Linked DNA regions of Homo sapiens: region 2 is linked to region 1. The links are contacts of gene promoters, found by promoter capture Hi-C in blood cells and fetal thymus (Javierre and others, 2016). All regions are on one chromosome and are shown on one strand. Each heading gives the region's core, a stretch centred on a gene start or on the middle of the fragment in contact. The rest is flanking DNA. Distances are from core to core; before and after follow the strand shown.

Region 1 (7,431 bases), core at 1,833-4,332:
CATTCTGGTCCCTGCTCAACTGTTACCTCTTCAGAATGGAATGGACTTCCCTGACCTATTTAAAACCATCTCTTTAATCTCTTAACACTGCTTTATCTTTTTTCCCTATACTTATCACTACCGCTGTGATATTTATAATTATTTCCTGATGCTCTGTCTTCCCTTCTAAATTGTAAACTACATGAGGGCAGGAAGTTTAGCTTGATTACTGCTGTAATTCCACACCTACGATAGGAGCTGGCACAGAGTAGGCTCTCAAATATTTGCTGAATCAACTGCGAGCCAAAGAACCTTTTTTAATATTCAGGGAAGGTAAATCGCTCTTTCAAAAAAAACAAAGAAACTGCCATTACTTAATGAGACTGAAGACAGACAAAGCAGCAGAAGAGAAAAAAAAATACATTTAAAAATGTTAATTCAAGAAAAGAATACTTAGCAAAATCTTGGGTTTTTTTTTCTCCTGTTAGGCTTAAAGTACAAGGGTTAAAATGTAAAAACACCCAACTATTTTAGTTTCAACATGGTGACAGCACAATGGTAAAGGAATTATGGGAAATTTTAGCATTTAAGATGCTTCCACTGCTTTTAGCTTTGAAAGTACCAAAAGGAAAAAAGGAAAGGTAGGAGTCAGTCTTGTTTAATTAATTAATTAATTATTTTGAGATGGACTTTCGCTCTTGTCACCCAGGCTGGAGTGCAGTGGCGCAATCTCGTCTCACTGCAACCTCCGCCTCCGAGGTTCAAGTGATTCTCCTGCCTCAGCCTCCTTAGTAGCTGGGATTACAGGCATGCACCACTATGCCCGGCTAATTTTTGTATTTTTAGTAGAGACGGGGTTTCGCCATGTTGGCCAGGCTGGTCTTGAACTCCTGACCTCAGGTGATCCACCCACCACGGCCTCCCAAAGTGTTGGGATTACAGGCGTGAGGCACCGCGCCGGGCCAGTCATGTTTAACTTAGATTATTAAAATATCGATGGTTGACAGCTGCAGCAAACCACCATGGCACACGTTTACCTATGTAACAAACTTGCACGTCCTGCACACGTATCCCGGAACTTAAAAAAAAATCCCATTTATTATCTGACCAGATACACAGTACTCATTCAAAGCCAAAGTTAATTAACATAACTAGTATTGATCTTCTTACCTACGTTATTACCCTGTTCCTTTCTATGGTCTACTTCTTCATTTCCTTAATCTAGCCTGGTCTAACTACTGGATGGCAGATAAAGGCATCATCCTTCAAGTGCAGTAAGGGAGTAGGAAAAACTTGTCTCAAACTAGAAAACTGCCTAGCAAGTCTACTAAGATTTCAGTTTGAAGTCTACTAACATTTCAGTTTTTGTTTGTTTTACTGAACCCTAAACAACCATTAAGGCCATAAACAGACTTAATGACGCTCTACAAGGAGATTCCAGCAGGGCTCACTCATAACAAAAGAGAGAAACCTGTAACACACAAGCAGCTGTTACAAAGCATTTTTTATATATGGCGTTCTCTTCTTAGTTCACTTCACAAAAACCTAAAAAACACTGAGCAAAACCCTGACCCCATCAACTGGTTAAGTGCATAGCAACACTGTACTTTCATTAAATCACTTAAATAGTGTTTAATTCTATTCAGGTCACACAAATCCTTTTCAAAGAGCTAGTGATCTAATAGGAAAAGAGATTGTTACCAAAATAACCTCAACATAATTTCATATAACTGAGACTGTTTTGAGGATTGCCGAATACTTTCTACTTATAAGGCATAGAGTGCTGAACTGCAAACACTCAATTCTAATTTTAAGAACTTTTGGATTAGAAAACAGCTGTTTTGGGGAGAGATGGTAAGGGAAAAAAGTCCCAGTATAGTTACAAAATTAAGTATTACATAATATTTAAAAGAGCTTTCTAGGTTTCTTTCATGTTCTAGGGCAAGCCCTTAAAGAAGAAGACAAGAGATACAGGGAAAGCTAAAGTAGTGTTCAGGGTGGTGGAACCCACTAACAAAACAATCCGCTGGGCACCGTAAGTAAAGCATTCTATTAGGCTGTGACGCGAAACAAGAACAAAGGTTTCATTCCTACGAGAGATTAAGTTTTAGAGCAAATGGACACGATCGTTAAAGAATTTGATATTTCCATGTAAACTGCATTAGCAGGTTATGCGATCCAAACTCACAGGAACAACTCCAACTCTCGGCCATGCCCTATTTCATGTCTAGATTTGTTTAACCGACTTACATCATAATCCAAGAATACGAACTACAGTATATTCTTACAGCAAAGTTATTCCTTAAAAGCAAAACCGAGCCACCTTTGAAAACACGCACACACATTATCCACGGCACTAAAACCCCAGTCTTGACCGAGAAAGACCAACAACTTGGGGGGGAAGAAAACAACTTCAGAGCCAGAGCTCCCAAAGCAGAAAGCGCTGGCGGCTGAAGGGCACACGAGGTTCCGCTCCCGGGCGAACGGGCGGCGTCGGACATCACTAACCAGGCCTGGGGACAGGCGAAGGACTTGCAACTGCGGGCGCCGGCTCTGCGGGCGTTAAGGGAAACGGGGAAGTGAGAAGAGGCGGGGACACGAAAAGAGAAAAGCTCCCTCAAGTTTGCCCGATGTTAACGCTCCAAGGATGAAAAGAGCCGTTTGTTTCGTCTGGGGACCGTCGCGTTTGGCCCTTCCCCCGCCTCCAACAATTCCCGGCGAAGCCCCGCGGCACCAAGCCGGGCCTCCCACCCCCCCGGCGGCCGCCAACCCGCCCGGCCCCAGGACCTCACCTGCAGGGCCGGCCCCGGAGGCGCAGGCGGGCGGCGGGGAGCGCAGCCGCAGCCAGAGGTGCAGCGCGGCCCCGAGCACACACGGGCACAGCAGCACCAGCCAGTTTCGCATTGGCCGCCCCCGCCGCGAGCCGGGCTCTCCCGCGTCCCGGCGGAGAGGGAGGGGACCTGCAAGTGCGGAGACTGAGGGGCGGCGGCTGACGAGCGACCACTCCGAGCACGCCCGCCCTCGCGCTCGGCGACGTCTGGGGGGCTCCTCGCAGCTCCCGGCCCCGCTCCTCCGGTCCCTCAGACCGCGGGTGGCCGCGGCTTAGCCGGCCGAAGCCCCGCCCCCTCCGCCTGGCCTTCCCACCGGCTCCGCCCACCTTTTCTCCCACTCGCCCCGCCCTCTCCTCCCGCGTTTCCACACGCGCCAGCCAGCCGGCCGGGAGCTGAAGTCCCGCTCTGGGCCCAGGCAGGGGGCGCCCGCGGTTTAGAAACCACATTTCCCATGAGCCTAAGCACGCGCTTCCGTCACTCGGCGGCCGCGGGGGCGAAGGGCGAGGCCCCACACAGAGCATGCGCATCCCCCTTGACGTTTGCTGCCACCCCACGGCCCAGGGGAGGTAGTGCCGGAGACCCGGTGCTCGGAGGCTGCCCGGAGCCGCGAAGGGAAATGCGCTTTGCCTCAGATTTGAAGGAAATCCGAGTGGCTCTTGTGTGAAATCACGCAGAGCTCCTTTGTTCCGCGTGCTCTCTTGCTCGACTGCTGTGGGAGGTGGGATCCTGCTGACGTCTCCTTGGCCCGTAGAGTGGGGCGAGGAAGCCCGAGTGTCCGCGCCTGGAGCGGTGACTCATCAGGGATTAGCTCTGGTGCCGTGGGTTCCCGGCTCTTTGCCCGGTTCTGTGCTCTGGGAACGCAGGGTGACAGACAGCGAGCTGGGGACTAGGCTGTGGAACACGATGATGACGAGCCAATCAGGGTAGAACTGCACGTGCTCCGGGTTCATACTGGAGCTGGGAGCGAAACGGGAGCCGGGCGAGCTGGGAGAACGTGGGCTCCGGGGACCTGGGGAAGGGTGGCCGCAGCGAGCCTTCCAGGGAGAACGCCGGCCCCGCGTCTTGAGGCTTTGCCCCGGGTGGGAGCCCTCCTGGCCCACCAGGCCCGCGCCGAGGCAGCCGGAAAGCGGGGACGGGGCGGTGAAGGCACTGGGGTGAGGATGGGAGAGAAGGATGAGAACGAGCGGCTGGGCTATGGGGCGGTTTTTGTTTCTGCTTTTGTTTTTGAGACGGAGTCTCACTCTGTCACCCAAGCTGTAGTGCAATGGCGCGATCTCGGCTCGCTGCAACCTCCGCCTCCTGGGTTCAAGCGATTCTCCTGCCTCAGCCTCCTGAGTGGCTGGGATTACAGGCGCCCGCCACTGCGCCCAGCTAATTTTTGTATTTTTTTTGTAGAGACGAGGTTTCGCCATGTTGGCCAGGCTGGTCTCCAGCTCCTGACCTCAGGTGATCCGCCCGCCTCGGCCTCCCAAAATGCTTGGATTACAGGCGTGAGCCACCGCGCTCGGCCGCGGTTTTTTTTTTTTTTTTTTTAAGTTTCCACAAGTGTGGAAACAGAAGGTGACTGTATTATTGAAAAAAAGTCTTGGATGACAGAAGACCCAACTCAAACAGGCTTAAGGGAAAAAAGTACTTTGGCTCGCCGTGGCTCATGCGTGTAATCCCAGCACTTTGGGAGGCCGAGGTGGGCGGATCACTTGAGGGCAGGAGTTCGAGACTAGCCTGGGTAACATGGTGAAACCCTGTCTCTACTAAAAATACAAAAATTAGTCTGGCGTAGTGGTGGGCACCTGTAGTCCCAGCTACTCAGGAGGCTGAGGCAGGAGGATCGCTTGAACCCAGGAGGCGGAGGTTGCAGTGAGCCGAGATCGCGCCATTGCACTCCAGCCTGGGTGACAGAACGAGACTCTGTCTCAAAAACAAACAAACAAACAAAAAAAAAATAAAAAGAAAAGGCAAGAAAGTAATAATTGGTTGCCAGAAAAAGTATACTATTTTTATCCTCAGGAAAGGTAGTAAATGGCCTCTGTTGATATTGTAAAATTTTCATTTTGTGAATTAGAATGAGTTATCCTAAAAAGAGGACTAATCCCTCATTTCAGCAGAGCTAGTCATTCGACAAATACTTATTGAGTGTCTATTATGTACCAGACACTTTTGTAGGTACTTTAGATACACCAGTGAACAAAATAAAGATCCCTATCCTGTGTTGATGGGGAGTAGGGCGCAGACTATAGACATAATAAAGAAATATACTCAACCAGCATGTTAGAAGGTTATTCCTGCTCTGGAAAATATAACAATTAGGGCCGGGTAGGGGAATTGTGAGTGTGGGATTGAAATGACACAGATTGCAGTATCAACTAGCAGTATTTAAACAACTGTTCAAAGTTACAATGAGCACTAAAGGGAAGAATAAACATAAGTCATCCGAATATATTAAATAATCAAGGTGTTGTTTCACTTAACAACCTAGAGGGGAAGTTTTTCACTGGCTCTCTGACAAGCTTGTAACAAAAATAGTTTTGAATAACTTTGTAACATCCTTCAAATCACATCAGAGTGGGAGCTGTCTATAGTACTTGTTCATAGGACCAGTGACCTTTCCACTTACCTGTTTTCTACTGTCCCCTAATAATCTCATGACTAAAGTGAGTGAAGATTGCAAGACAGTAATTCCTGTAATCCCAGCACTTTAGGAGGCTGAGGTGGGAGGATCACTTGAGTCCAGGAGTTCAAGACCAGCCTGGGCAACATAGCAAGACCTCGTCTCTACAAAAAATTAACAATTAGCTGGGCATGGTGGTATACGCCTATAGTTCCAGCTACTCGGGAGGCTGAGGCAGGATGATCACTTAAGCCCCAGAGTTCAAGGTTAGAGTGAGCTATGATCACACCACAGGACTCAGTCTGGGTGACAGAGTGGGACCTTGTTTCTAAAAAAAAAAAAAAAAGGTAAAAGTGACAGTATGTGTAATGGAAAGAATAAAAAAACTCAGTAGTGATATAAACAGTCTGTGCACTCAAGGGGCTCATAGGGTAAGTAGGAACAAGTTAACAGAATTAGAATTAGGGAGAGACAAACTAGGGTGGTTGGTAACCATGATGGCAATTCAATGTGATAAGTGCTCTGAGAAAGGAATGCACAGGATGTTAGAGCAGCACAAAGCAGGGGGTACAGCTGTCTCTACTCATGGGGGATTGGTTCTGGACCTTCTATGGATACCAAAATTCATGGATGCTCAAGTCCCTTATATAAAATGGTATAATATTTGCATATAACATACACACATCCTCTCATATACGCGAAATCATCTCTAAATTACTTATAACACCTAATATGATGTCTACGCATCACTTCATTCACGTGGATTCAATGGCATGCGCAAATTCAAGTTTGCTTTTTTCCTGAATTTGAGGTTGGTTGAATTCATAGATGCAGTACCCAGGGATATGGAGGGCCAACTATATTTAACTCTACTCAAGGGTCCCCAGAGGAGGCTATCTCTTGAAAATACAGGGCCGGGGCTTGAAGTCAAAGTGGCCAGTTAACAGGGCCAGAAAGTAGGAAGGACATTCAAGAGCACTGTAGGCAAAAAAATAAAAAATAAAATAAATAAACCTGAGCTAGTGATGACACGGCAATTAGGGAAATGTAAGCAATTGGTATGACCTTAGTGCAAGTTAGGAACACGGCAATGATGAGAAGGTGAACAGAAGGCAGAGGCCAGGTTGTAATCATAAACTTTGCTAAGGAATTTGGACTTTATTGTGAAGGCTCTAAAGAAGAATTTTTTTTTCTGATTACCAATGTAATACATGATTATGAAAAGGATCTTGGAAAACAGAAGAATATAAGAAATCATACTACATACAATTCATACATTTTTTAAAAGTTTTTTCATTAAAAAAATTTGCCATTCATACTGTAAGTTAGAATTTATATCCAACTATTTTCACCTAACCTATAAGCCTTCCCATATTTAATTAGTAGTCTCAGAAAATATAACTTAATCATTTGTCCACACTATAATTTCTTATCTGGTCCCGTATTATTGGACATACAGGTTGTTTCCATTATTCCACTATAATAAGTAATACTGGCACTTCTGTGCACAAAACTTTTTCCACATTTCAGATAATTTCCTTTTCTGATATTATTTTTAAGCCGCTTTATTCATACTGCTATTGTTTCAATGTGTATGTCTGCCTTCAATATGTTTCTCTTATCTCACCCTCATATTTTAAAAAAGTTCTTTATTAATTCAAAGGACAAAACTTTTCATCAATGAGATTGAATATTCTTATGTTCGTTAGCTGTTTCTATTTCTTTTGTTAATTAGTCATGTATCTTCCTTTTATCCATTTGTATAAGCCCTTTATTTTTCCTCAGTTTTCTTGCCTTCTAATTTTATAACTTTTAGGACACAAAAACACTTTAAATTTTTATAAATTCAAATGATCAATATTTAATTTTTTTCCATATTTTAGGATGATTCTGATCGTGAGATCTGGTCAATATTCTTGTTTGTTTTATTTAATGTTTTAATCCATTTGGAATTTATTTAGGAATATGGTGTAATGCAAGGATCTCAAAATTAATTAATTTTTTTCATATAGC
Region 2 (7,431 bases), core at 3,308-5,807, 260 kb after region 1:
AAAATGTTTCAACATGACAGATGATTTAAAAAACAAATATGTCCTGTAAAATTCCAAATAAAACTAATTCAAAAAGGCCAGGTGCAGTGGCTTGAGCCTGTAATCTCAGCACTTTGGGAGGCAGAGGTGGGTGGCTCACTTGAGCCCAAGAGTTCAAGACCAGCCTGGGCAAAAAGGCAAAACCCTATCTCATTTATTTAAAAAAAATTTTTTTTAAAAAGAAAAGGAAAACTAATAAAAACATAGCCTTAAAATATTATTATAAAAGAGCATAAAAAGTGCTAGAGAATAACTGAAACACTTTGGCAGGAAAACAAAACTAGAGACTAATACCTATATATCTAGTTCTATCTATCTCTATTACCATCTCACCTGCAGTATTTAATAATTAGGATTGAAGCTAAAGACAAGACTAGGTTGGACTGACAATAAGAGCAATGTCCCAGTATGGAAAAGGACAGTAGTCAGGAAAGGAAAAGATGTATGGTCAGTTTGCAACTAGAAAACCTGCACCTATTCTTTTCTTCTATAAAGTAGCGATGAGACTCTGTTAAGAGTCAATTAGGAAGATAGAAAAGTACTGTAGGCTTAAAGACTTGAATACACTTACTATGGAAATAGAAGAGGGTATTGATTCTGAACATACCTAAAAATTACAGGGCAGCCTTTAAAGCTCTGCTACAACTTTCAGCAGTATGACAATGGTTAGACTGAGGCGAGGTTAGCATTTTTCAGTTCAAGAATACCAATAGGCTAAGGGGACAAGGAAACTGAGATACTTTCCAACTGAGTAACTGCTGAAGTTATTGGCTAATGTGACCTAGGCTGGATAGGGAAAGCGAGACAAGGGGAACTTTGGAGTGTGATTAAAAAAAAAACAAAAAAAAACCAGAAAGATGGGAGGCTGTCAATTAGAGAGGATGAATGCATCCCCTTTGCCTTTTTTCAGCATGTCAGAACTCCCCCAAAGGATTCTGTTTCTCTGGTTGGCTGGAGGGCTAATGATACAGAAAGATTCTGTTCAAATGAGAACACGTGGACACAGGAAGGGGAACATCACACACCAGGGCCTGTTGTCGGGTGGGGGGAGGGGGGAGGGATAGCATTAGGAGATATGCCTAATGCTAAATGACGAGTTAATGGGTGCAGCACACCAACATGGCATATGTATACATATGTAACAAACCGGCACATTGTGCACATGTATCCTAAAACTTAAAGTGTAATTATAAAAAAAAAAGATTCTGTTCAAAAGACTTGGAAAAGAAATGGAGCCATGATTGTACAGTATTTGAAAATGTTTCAGAGTGATGCATGTGATTGAAAAACAGATCATATGGATAGAACAAAGCGGGATATTGTAGTTTCACAGGTGCTTGAAAGCATTCTTGATGATGATAAAGTCCAAGACAGATGCATGCAGAGCGGTAAGACAAAGTAGAGAAAAGGTACCCTGAGTCAAAAAATGTGAAGCTGGAGTATTGGGTGGCCATTTATCTGGCAAGTGAAGTTGTCCAGAATGATGGTTTTAGGTAGACAGAAGAGAATAAAAGTTTTTAAAAAGCTTCTGAAGAAAATGGTAAAATAAATCAGAAGCTTGATGAAAGACAAATGACTATGATAAGAGAAGTCAGAGAATGCCAGAACAAGATAGCATGAGCCTCATCCATTTTCTCAATGCTCTTGAGGACCTGTGCTGGGTGTCTCTTGTTAGATTGAATGAGGTTGTACTACATATACTTCTAAAATATGTACAATTTAATTATCTAAGAATATTCAGAACTAAAATGAGAAGGTCATACTTCCATTATTGCTATTTTTACCTTCATATGGTGAAGCAGTAAAACCAGATGGGCTTATTACCATAAATCCAGGGCTCATAAGGGACCTTCCTCCACTGCTGGAATGCCTCAGGTACATGATTGACCGCACTTTCTCCTGAAAGATCTTGCCATCTAGAATCCAAATTTTTTTTGAAACAGCAAAATTTTTAAAAAGGATAAAACGAAAATATAACTTTAAAAGCAGATCATTAAATTCAAATTTTGACAAAAAGATGTTTAAAGAGAAAAATATATAGCATACTTTATATTAAGGCACACGATATGTGAATACTTACTCTTCACAATTTTTTAGTACAGATTTTGCTGTTGTTTATTATTTCTGGCCACATTAACTTCTATTTTCTTAATTCCAACTGTACTTATAGTTATTTCTATGGTTTAACATTTAACTATTCACTTTTATATGTTATTATCATCTCTCAAGGGAGATTGTTCATCCTTGAGGAAAGGACTGTGTCTTTTATTTTTATATATCCCCTTCAGTGTCTAATATTTGTAAAAACTAATCATTTCTGAGCTTCATACTTATAAATTCAACTGCTTGGTTTCTTAAACAAATCACAAATGCAACAAATCTAAATCCGAATCATCTTTTTGCCCTAAATTTACTCCTTCTGTTTTGTTCTTTGGGAAGTTCCCATGTGGTAACCTGGAGCTACCCTTGACCACTACCTTTCCTTTATCCATGGCAAATCAGTCACCAGGTTCTACTGACTTTTTCCCTTTTTTTGAGACAGTCTTGCTCTGTCGCCCAGGCTGGAGTATGGTGGTGTGATCTTTGCTCACTGCAACCTCTGCCTCCCTGGTTCAAGCAATTCTCATGCCTCAGCCTCCCGAGTAGCTGGGATTACAGGCATGTGCCACCACGCCCAGCAACTTTTTTTTTCTTTTTTTTTTAAGGAGAGACGAGGTTTCGCTATGTTGACCAGGCTGGAGTTGAACTCCTGGCCTCAAGTGATCCACCCACCTTGGCCTCTCAAAGTGCTGGGATTACAGCATGAACCACCATGCCTAGCATGACTTCATTTTTTGTTTCTTGACCTCTTCTCTTCCCTACCATAGTGCTATAATGCAGGCTTTATCATCTCTCAACTGGGTTACTATCACAGATTTCTAAATGGTATCCTTGATGAGCATCTCATTACTCTCAAATCCTCACAGCTACCAGAATTCGCTCTCTCTCGAATGTCAACTCCTGCTTAAAACCTTCCAGTGGCTTTCTATGCCTCCTTACCACCTTGGATAAAACCCAAGCTTCTTGTCCACAAGAATTACCACTATTTGTCCCTAGGTCCCTCCCAAGCCTTGTTTCATAAATTACATTTCAGCAACACCACTTTCTCCTAGTTCCCTGTCAAGCTGTTTCCTTTACCTGGAAGGCCCTTTTCTCTTTGATTCTTACTCATCCTTTAAGATTCAGGGCAGGCATCACTTCCTCTGGGAAATCCCCCTCAGTCTTCATATGCTCTATGCTACCAGAAAACAAAAATGTTGACTGCCTTATCACTGTGCTTTCCACGTGGCATGATATAATCGTTTCTTTATCCTCTTTCCCTCAACTAGGCTGTAAACGTCTTAAGAGAGGGGACCATATTTTACCCATCTTTGTAACTAACCCACTCTCAGAATCTTTATCCACAGTCCTTTTTCCATGAAATGTGCTAAGCCTACCACAAAGTCATGCTATCTAATTTCATTTGGACATTTACTGCTGCTTATTTTATTCATTTACTACATTTCTTTTTTTTTCTTTTCTTTTTTTTTTTTTTTTTTTTTGAGATGGAGGTTTGCTCTTGTCACCCAGGCTGGAGTGCAATGGCACATTCTCACCTAACTGCAACCACCGCTTCCCGGGTTCAAGCCATTCTCCTGCCTCAGCCTCCCAAGTAGCTGGGATTACAGGCATGTGCCACCATGCCAGGCTAATTTTTTTTTTATTTTTAGTAGAGATGGGGTTTTGCCATGTTGGTCAGGCAGGTCTTGAACTCCTGACCTCAGGTAATCTGCCTGCCCCGGCTTCCCAAAGTGCTGGGATTACAGGCGTGAGCCACCGTGCCTGGCCCCATTTACTACATCTCTTAAAATGGCTATTGTACAACCAGTTTTCCAATGTAAATTTATGACTCAGCTTTCTTGTAGGTACATTCTTGCTTTCTTTCTTACATTACATTTCCCTGGTTCTTAAAAAAAACTGATTATTCCATCTTTCTCTTTTACTGATTCTTCATTCTTGTCCTACCCTCCAACTAGTAATACTACCAGCAGTTCTTTCCTTAGCTTTCTCTTTCCTTCTCTTGCTCTACTTTTCTTCAGTGGTCTCATCTGTTCTCAGAGCTTCACCTCACTTCTATGTGGACAGCTCCTTATAACCTACCCTTCCTTCTTCATGCTGTAACCCTCATTCCCAATTGCCTACTAGAAAATTATATTATAAATAACTGCAGGGCACCTCAAATACAACATATATTATACAACCAAAGCCATTATCCTTTTTCCTTAACACCTCCAGAGTCATTCCATCCTAAACTTCCCACTTCTCAATTTATCCCTCCTTTCCAGTTCCACTGTTACTATGCCCAGATTCTGTTATCCTGTCTCTCACGGACTACTATAATTGGCCTTACTGCCCCTAGTTCCTTATTCCTGAATTCTACTGCAATAATTTACTTATAGCCTTTGCTCAAAACAAACAAATAAAACCCTTTCAATGACCTATAACTAGAATACAAGTTCGAATTCTCTGGCCTTACATTCAAGGACCCATTTGATATGACTTTAGGGTAAAAATAAGTAAATGGTGGTCTTAAACTGTATTTATGGCATTATTTCTCACTATTCCTTTACAGATCCCCTATATATAGGTAAAACTCATTAGTCCTTATTTTCTATTTCCTTTTATCCTCCCTTTAAAGTCATTGTCTTTACCTGGAACACTAACTCTCCAATCTACCTATCAAATTCTACTCAAAATCTTCAATGTCTACATCAGATGTCATGTAACCTATTAAATATTCTCTCCACAGTGGTCGGATGAAACCCTCTGTCCACTGAAATCTCATTAGTTCTTCTTTTGTGTCTCTTTGATACTTACCAAATACACATTTTTTTTTTTTACTGTAGTTATTTGAGTCTATGTCTCCTTTCTCCACTTGGCATTTAGACTCCTTGAGGACAGAGGCCATGTCTAGTTCATTCTATAACTCTCTGCCCTATCCCAACCCCAATATGTAATTAGAGCAGCACAGAGGCCATTCAAATGTCAAACAAATGTGAATCAAGTGGGAAGAATAAAACAAAAGTGGAAATAGCCATGATCTAACAAAAATGATTATACCTACCTATGTGCAAAGAAAAGTAGAAGTTCGTGGGATTGTGACAAACGTAAGTATTAGTAGGAGGGTGAACTGCTAAAAGGAAATTGAAGATAATTGTCAATAATTCCAAATCTGGAGGAGATCCAAGGACTTCTGCTATAATTTTCACAAATGATCTACAAACCTCTCGGGGCATGGGTGTGAGTTGCCCCTCTTTGTATTCCTGAAAAAATAAAAAAAACTCTCTTTAGATTTAAAGAATTGTCAACTTAACTAAGATTTTTCATTTAGGCAAAATATTCTTTTTAAGATAGAATTCTGTTGGTTTACTACTCTAGTCTGATCATACTTACCATTACCATAACAACTCATTAAATTGAGTTATTTCCTAATTCAAGCAATCTTGTTATTAAAAATTCATTAACACAGATGGCAACTTAATTCTAGCCCATGTATCTTAATTAACTGAGGCAAACTTATATAACTCTCACAAGCGTGGTCTCAAAAGCCAGACTTCCTAGGTTTGCATTCTGGTTTCTCCACTCACTAGCCATGTGATCTTAGGTAAGTTACTTAACATCTGCATGCTTCACTTTCTTTGTCTATGTGAGTAATACTAGTGCTACTTTATAGGGTTGTTATAAGGACTAAATAACATAAACTCTTAGAATAGTGCCTTGCATATAGGTAAGCCCCATATAAATGTTAGTGATAAACTACAATCACTACTATTACTACTGCTACTATCTTTTCTTCTCCTTTTACTACTACTACTATTAGTAATATTAGTATAGGATTAGGACAGAAAACTTTTGATGGACAAAACTCGTTATACTAATACAATATGCTCCAGTTTACAAAGCTTTTTTTCACAACAGCTCTATGAGAGGTTTTAGCCCTCATTTCTAGAATATGAGGCACAAAGAGGTTATTTGACTAGTGTAAACCACACATAAAATATGTAGGTAGTACAATTATAACTCAAACTCAGGCCTCTGAACTCTTTCTACTGCACCATTTACTGTCTGGAATAATGAGGCTTGGCAAAATGCCAACTAATTACTAAAAATAAAGCTGTATATAAATAAATTGCTTATATCCTCCAATTCCATCTCCCCAGTGGGTAGCAGCTGGCCTCCAGATTAAGGGTATGGGAGGTAAAATTCCTCATCTTCCCTCTTCATATGTCCAAATATATATCTCTACATCCACTCTTCATTTACTCTTGGGTATTACTGAATTGGAGTACTTAAAATGTAGATGTTAATTTTGAAACAATTTAGTTCGACTACCTCAGATTTAAGAAGGGAACACTGAGTCTACAGAAGAAAACACAAAACTCCTTTGCCAAGTTCTCATAGCTGTCAAGTGGCAAAGACTAAGACAGGAACATAGATCTCCCGACTTCCAATTCAGAACTATTTCTGCTACAACCATCTGCATTTCTTCTAAACCATACTCCATGTATCTTCTTAACTTTCTTGGTTGCAGCATCAGTGATTCATTCCCAAGTCCAGCCCAGGTTACTTCTATCTTGCCCTCTCCACTGACTCTTTATCAATAGTCACTGGTATTCTATTTTATTATTTTTTTAATCCCTTAACTTTACCTTATATGAACATTCTGTTTCTGTCTTTGCTTTTGCTGCTGGACTTTTTAATAATCATTTGTTCTCACTGCCTTCAATGATCTGCCACACATGCTGTCCAAAGTCCCTGAAATCTGGCTCTTGCCTTATCCATGCTATTGAAATCTTGTAAGTCATTAAGAATTTCTGAGTCAATGGCCCTTTATCTGCCTACATTTTCTCTGAACTTTCTATATCATTTGGTTCAAGGTATCATCTTCTTCTCTACATGTTCTTCCCCCTCTGCCGACCTCTGGCTTTCACTTTACTGAGTCTCCTCTTAGCTTTTCAATTACTCTTTCTGTATCTCTTTCAATAGCCCCTTTTTCTGGTTTCACATCCTGAAAATGGGTATCTCCTGAGGTGTAAACCTCAGTCCTCTGATTCTCTCACTACGTTTCTCTGTCTTGGAGTGCTTCTCTATCCTGATGGCTTCACTATTACCAGTTCACTGTTGCTGAATATCCTGCTGTAATTTCAAATGTAGATACAAAAACTACAAAACTTACAAGGTTGCTTTTTTTTCTTATGAAATTATTGTTTTTCTGGTCTCCCGGCTTGAAATTTTATGTTATATTTGACTCCTCCTGAAGCTCCATTTAAAAAGAATCAAGTCCTATGAATTCTATCCTTATAATCTCTCCCA

Evidence for each region. Contacts are between HindIII fragments. The CHiCAGO score rates a contact against its expected background, and 5 or more counts as called.
Region 2: a contact is called between a fragment that was not itself captured here and the fragment with the promoter of B3GALNT2 in region 1, in 1 of 17 cell types (megakaryocytes). The highest score is 5.1, in megakaryocytes.

The regions. Positions count from the first base shown.
Region 1 is chr1:235,501,370-235,508,800 of GRCh38, forward strand. B3GALNT2 (beta-1,3-N-acetylgalactosaminyltransferase 2) reads right to left here and starts at 3,083. Exons shown (of 12, transcript NM_152490.5): 1 at 2,772-3,083. The coding sequence starts at 2,883. RefSeq lists a silencer at 2,612-3,251 and enhancers at 3,185-3,861, 3,562-3,681. The HindIII fragment of the contact is 19,953 bases long and covers 1-7,431 here.
Region 2 is chr1:235,760,897-235,768,327 of GRCh38, forward strand. LYST (lysosomal trafficking regulator) reads right to left here. Exons shown (of 53, transcript NM_000081.4): 21 at 5,183-5,381; 22 at 1,824-1,955. Among named protein-coding and RNA genes, the nearest start is that of MIR1537, 88 kb to the right of the region's middle. RefSeq lists an enhancer at 3,185-3,304 and a silencer at 3,335-3,414. The HindIII fragment of the contact is 2,922 bases long and covers 3,097-6,018 here.